Linked DNA regions of Homo sapiens: region 2 is linked to region 1. Evidence: promoter capture Hi-C in human tissues and cell types (Jung and others, 2019). All regions are on one chromosome and are shown on one strand. The core of a region is centred on a gene start or on the middle of the fragment in contact, and the rest is flanking DNA. Distances in the headings are between cores, read along the strand shown. Region 1 holds the start of RTKN2 (rhotekin 2). Region 2 has its middle 66 kb from the start of NRBF2.

Region 1 (2,700 bases), core at 100-2,599:
CATCAAAATCTTTGAAATTTTTGAAAATGCTGGCATAAAACAGCATAAGTATTACTGATAAAGACACTGGACTTCTTTTGCATAATGAATCTTAATGTCTTGCTTTATTTTTCACAGTATTATTGAAAACTAATAATTTTGTGTCTGCTAAGGAAATCCCAGATTTTTAAACAAAGATATCAGGTGCCTCCATATGAATGAAATTGCAAATATTCTACCAATTTTGACCTACAAAACTGGCAATTTCATATGGCTTAACCTATTTCTGAAGTAGGTAAAAGAAGGTAGAGATTAAAATAGAAGTGAAGGTCCAGCTTAAAGACATCAGAGTTTTCTTTTAAGACCCTAAAGTTATGGTTAAGAGTGAAAAGTGGTAACATTTTAATAACTGATGCTGCCAAGAAATAATGTTGGTTTAGTAAAAAGTAAAATAAAAAGGTTTCTAACGCATTTTACATGGCTCAAAAGCAAACATCAAACTTCTATCCAATGTCACGTGTACTCCCTCTTTCCTTTCAAATGATTTGAGAAAGAACCCAGTATCAAACCTTCAACTTTTTCTAAAGTGCAGAGGTTGCTGTTTGCCTCTACTCCGCTCCGAACCCCCTCCCCCCAACCAGTTCTGTGTTGTGTGTAGACATCGCTCCATTACTGTGCTTCCCATTAAATCCGTAATAAGCCAGCTGTCCACTGGCCTCGCTGGGTTTCTTGGGAATCGAGGGGCTCCCATTTCCCCGGCATCACCTACACCTGCAAAAAGACAGGCGTCCAAAGCCTGGGGAGGGCAGCGGACAGGTGCGCCCGCAAACGCGCGCCTGGACCCCGGCACCGCCTTCCCAATCCGGACCTCAGCTGCCTGAGAAACTCGGGGGTTCCGATGTCCAGGCCCTTTAGAGCCCCAAGAGCGCAGTCTCCTAATCCCTCCCTTTGTTTCTGGCCACCGCTGAAATAGAGGAGCGGGGGAGAGGCTTTCCCGACTCCTCCACAAAGCAAATGCGCGAGGAACAGAACCCCGGCTCCCTCACCTTCCGCGGCAGGGTCCCTCCCGCAACTCACCTGCTGGGTGGGAAGCCCCGCCAGGCGGAGCGCAGGACCCCTCAGGCTCGGCCCCTCCATCTCCAACGCGAACTGTCCGGGCCGTCGCCACTCCTTCAAAGGGAAGATTTGAAAAGCCCGCCCCTGGCAGGAGCCGCAGAGGACGCCAACCGCCCGGCCGTACCAAGTCCCAGTCGCAGGGGCCGGGGGCGCAGGAGGAGCCGGGCCGAAGCGCACGCGCAGTGGGCGCGCCTTGCGCTCTGCAGCTCCCGCCGCCGGAAGTTGCCGAGACCCCAGGCTCTAGCGCGGCGGGGCGGGGGAGAGGGCGGCGGTGCCGGACTTAAGTCCCGGACAGGGATGTGGGCGGGCCTGGGACGGGAGTGGGAGGGGCCGCGGGGAAAGCTTCGGCGGCGGAGCGCACCTGTCCCAGCTCAGGTTTCTGGCTGGTGGTTTTCGTGGCACGCCCTTTGCACTGGGAGCTTTCTGCCCGCATCCCACCGAAGGCCTTCCAAAGTGATCGTAGCTGGACAGACTCGAGGCTGCAGTCCCTGTACTCCCAGACAACTCAGGAACCCACAGCGTCACTAAGAGCCCACGGTCTCGTTCCTAAAGAACCAATAACATTACTCTCAAACACAGCGCTCTCTGTTTCCTCTCACCTTTCCCAGCGTTGTCACCAGGGTCACCCAGATATCATGGTTTTATTCATCAGGTTCGTGAGATACTATGTCAGGCATTTCACAAGGTCTTGTCTTTGCCCCCAGTGTTTATAATCCCAGATGTTCCCCGCCAACTACTCTGTCCACTTACTTTGTTTTCTTGCGAAGGATTTCTTTCAGCTCTCTCGCCCTCTCTTTCCCTCTCCAACATCTAAGGTGATAGCAAAATGGGGTACTATTTCTCAAGAGCCTCATTTCTTGCTGCCCTAAAGATTAGCACAAAGACCCATTTTAATTCATGGATTTTGTTAATTATAAAGGGAAACATGGGATTTTTAAAAATCAAAATGAAAGCAGCAAAGATATCACACCCTTGAAAAGTCCTTAAAATTCATTGTCCCTAGTTTATCTTTATTTCCCCCTTGAAAAGGCAAGAGGAAGCCTCTTCTTGAAGAGTCTACCAAATCAACCCTCCAGCCCTCATCGCCTAGAAACCCTTGGGCATTTTTCCTCCATAAATAGGTGCCCATGTTTTTTCATTTGCCTGGGACAGACCCTGTCTGGGTCTGTTGTCCCAATGTTGCACCAATCTTGCACTTATCCCGTAGTGGATATTATGTGGTCATTTTAACTGCAAGACCCTTTTAAAAGCAGTTGGTTTGAGAATGTACTTTAAAAATATAATGGATACCCTTCCTCAAATAGGTAAAATGCCTCTTTAAGACCTTTTGGACTAGGTGATACTAGAAGCTTCCCAGTTGGGAATGATGGTCCCCTTGCATTATGAATGACCCATATCCTTACAACAATAAAATATGTGTTCAAAATTATCAACACGGAGCTCACCTCGTTTTCTACAAACACAGGTCTGAATTTCAGAATCATTATGTGCCCTTTCCTCCAATGCACATCTCTGTCTTATGCTACCACTTTGTGGTATAATTATCTCCTACTCAGTATGAGGCTGCATGAGCCTAGCTGTAGTACCTGACTCAAAAGAAAAACA
Region 2 (2,700 bases), core at 179-2,678, 800 kb after region 1:
GAATGTTGCAACAAGTCACTGAAAATGATGTTTGACCTCACCATGGACTGGACTCATCCATCCATAAACAGCATTTATTTCCAACTGGGAGCAACTTCCCACACCCAAGAACAGGGTCAAGCATTTCGGATACATATGACAGGCAGGTTTGATCTTTCCTTCCGGGTATCACTTTCCTTTTGTCCTAACTTCATTACCTTCAAATCCTGCAACAATCTTATCATAGAAATTATTCCATTTCCAACACCCTGAGTCCAATTGCCCGTTTTCTTCAAATCCCTTCTTAATGTCTACTTTCTTATGATGCTTTCCCCACTAATATGAATATAGCTTCAAAGTACGGTATACCTAGGCTTCCTGATTCAGTCTACAATATTATGTTTGAAAATTTATGGGAAAAATTGAAGCTAATTATTTTTGGTTAGTTCTGGGGAGTGTTTGACAAGAAGATATAATTCTCCAAGGCATGGTTCAGGCATTTGTTACAGTAGGAGCCACCTGTGCATCACCCCGACCCGTTCTCCCCATCCTTGTCTTCTCCTATAAGCCTCCAGTTAGAAAACCACTCCTCTCCATGGCAGGTCAAACATCAACAGCCTTACCCTTGGGCTTGGAGTGAAGTCATAGTTCAGCATGCAGCACCCTGAGGCAATCTTGACATCTCTATCACACCACACTTTTTAGTACATATCCACTAGATAGAGATAGGAGTGAATTTCTCTTCTTCCGGAACTTGCTTTATAAGCCTCTGAGCCTTTGCATATGCTGTTGGTTCTTTCTAGAATACCATCCTCACCTGTCACCAATACTCCCACCTCCATAGTTGTCTGTCTGGGAAACTGTTATTCACACTTCGAGTCTCCATTCAAGTCAGCGTCAGCCCCTGCGGAGTCTTTCCAGTCACTCTCAGGCTGACTTTGACACTCCTCTCTGTGCCTCACTGTGCTTTGCCCAGACTCCATGTTGGAGCTCATCTCTGCTTGCATTTGTGTAAGCGTCTGATCATCACTAGATTGTAAGCTAAGAGAAACCAGGAGCCATGTCATTTCATTTCTCTATCCCAGAACCTAGCACAATGCCTGTCATGAGAAGGGTTCAATGAAAAATTTAATGAATGAATGAGTGAATGAAGCACAATTCAACTGAAGCTAAAAGAGGGAACAACTAGGAGGATAATTGTGGTGAAATAATCAACATTCCTCTATCAAGTCAAAATTAAACTGCCTTGCAGTTGACTCAACTTTTTATTATTTTCAATTATTTCTCCAAATGTGCCTCTTCTTAACTATTTTGATGAACACGGCAGATAAGTGTTTAATACCAGTTGTCCCTCATTAGTTAGCTGATTAAAATGACAATATTAAAAGAAACAAGGTATGACTAATTCAGTGTTTTAATAGGAAAAAAAGAACATTTGCATACAAAAATCAGCCTGTGTCAGACGTAAATTGTGCACCATCACACTGATTACCTGCTATGGCCAATGACATGGAAGTTGAAAATAATAGAAATATGATGTGGTATTTAAATTAGTATCTTTCACAGCCATATGTTAAATATATGCTATTTCCCACATGACAAACTGATTAAATAACTTAGATAATGTTTTAATACACATCATTATACAAAAAAGATTAGAATAAACTATGAATCATTCTGTCAACTTGTGATTCAACAGAATAATGTATATTTTTCATGGTTATTAATATTTAGTGTCTTTCAGTAAATTAAAAATCAAGCTTAACAAAGGTTAAAAATATCTGATGACACATAGATGATTGTAAAAGTAATATATATTAATGAACCTTTGAATGACTGACTTTTTTTTTTTGGTTAATCACTCACAGAATTATGTCAAACATATATCAAGACTGGCTCCTTTTTCAGCCAACCTTCCGGCATTTCATTACTATAGTTACCTGATTAATGGATGCAATAATATATATGGCATGATATGATATGTTCGCATTAAATTTTAATCAAATATTACTAAATTCAGAAAACATTAAGTAAATCATGACTGATGAGGCAATATTGCTGTACTGTCATATTGATGATTCTGAAACTTCACTACTGAGAGTAACAGATTAAGCACAAGAAGTGAATTTTATGAGGAAATATAAGTATCTCAACTTCCACAGTTGTGTTTTTTAATTGCTTTACGGCCACCAGAGGAGATGTGAGATCCATCAAGTCTATTGATGTCACAGATCTCATAATTCCCTTTCTTGGTTTCAAAAATTTTATTTGCAGTGATAGAGGGGCCCATTCATTATCTATGGGGGTTTGTTTTTCCTATCATGGTTTTTACCTAAAAGCTATTGTTATTCCATTTATACGAGGCATCTAAAATAGTCAAATTTCTAGAAACAGAAGAAAATGGAATGTGGTTGCCAGGGGCTGGGGGAGGAGGAAATGGGAGGTGTTGTTCAATGGGTATAGAGTTTCAGTTTTGCATGATGAAAAAGTTCTGGAGGTTTGTTGCGAAACAATGTGAATATACCTCCCACTGCTGAACTGCACAGTTTAAAAACGGTTATGAGAGTAAATGTTACGTTATGTGGTTTGTTGTTTGCTTTTGTTTTTGTTTTTATTCTTGAGGCAGAGTCTTGCTCTGTCGCCCAGGCTGGAGCGCAGTGATGCGATCTCAGCTCAATGCTGAGATCACTCCATCCCCTGGGTTCAAGAGATTCTCCTCCC

Evidence for each region. Contacts are between HindIII fragments. The study calls those that stand out against the background at their distance.
Region 2: a contact is called between a fragment that was not itself captured here and the fragment with the promoter of RTKN2 in region 1, in 2 of the 25 tissues and cell types used here (IMR-90 fibroblasts and spleen).

The regions. Positions count from the first base shown.
Region 1 is chr10:62,267,495-62,270,194 of GRCh38, forward strand. It overlaps RTKN2 (rhotekin 2), which reads right to left and starts at 1,350. Exons shown (of 12, transcript NM_145307.4): 1 at 1,057-1,350. The coding sequence starts at 1,116. The region is part of intron 1 of LINC02621 (long intergenic non-protein coding RNA 2621); the gene reads left to right. RefSeq lists a silencer at 1,102-1,431. The HindIII fragment of the contact is 3,580 bases long and covers 1-1,940 here.
Region 2 is chr10:63,065,938-63,068,637 of GRCh38, forward strand. No RefSeq gene overlaps it. Among named protein-coding and RNA genes, the nearest start is that of NRBF2, 66 kb to the right of the region's middle. The HindIII fragment of the contact is 7,418 bases long and covers 1-2,700 here.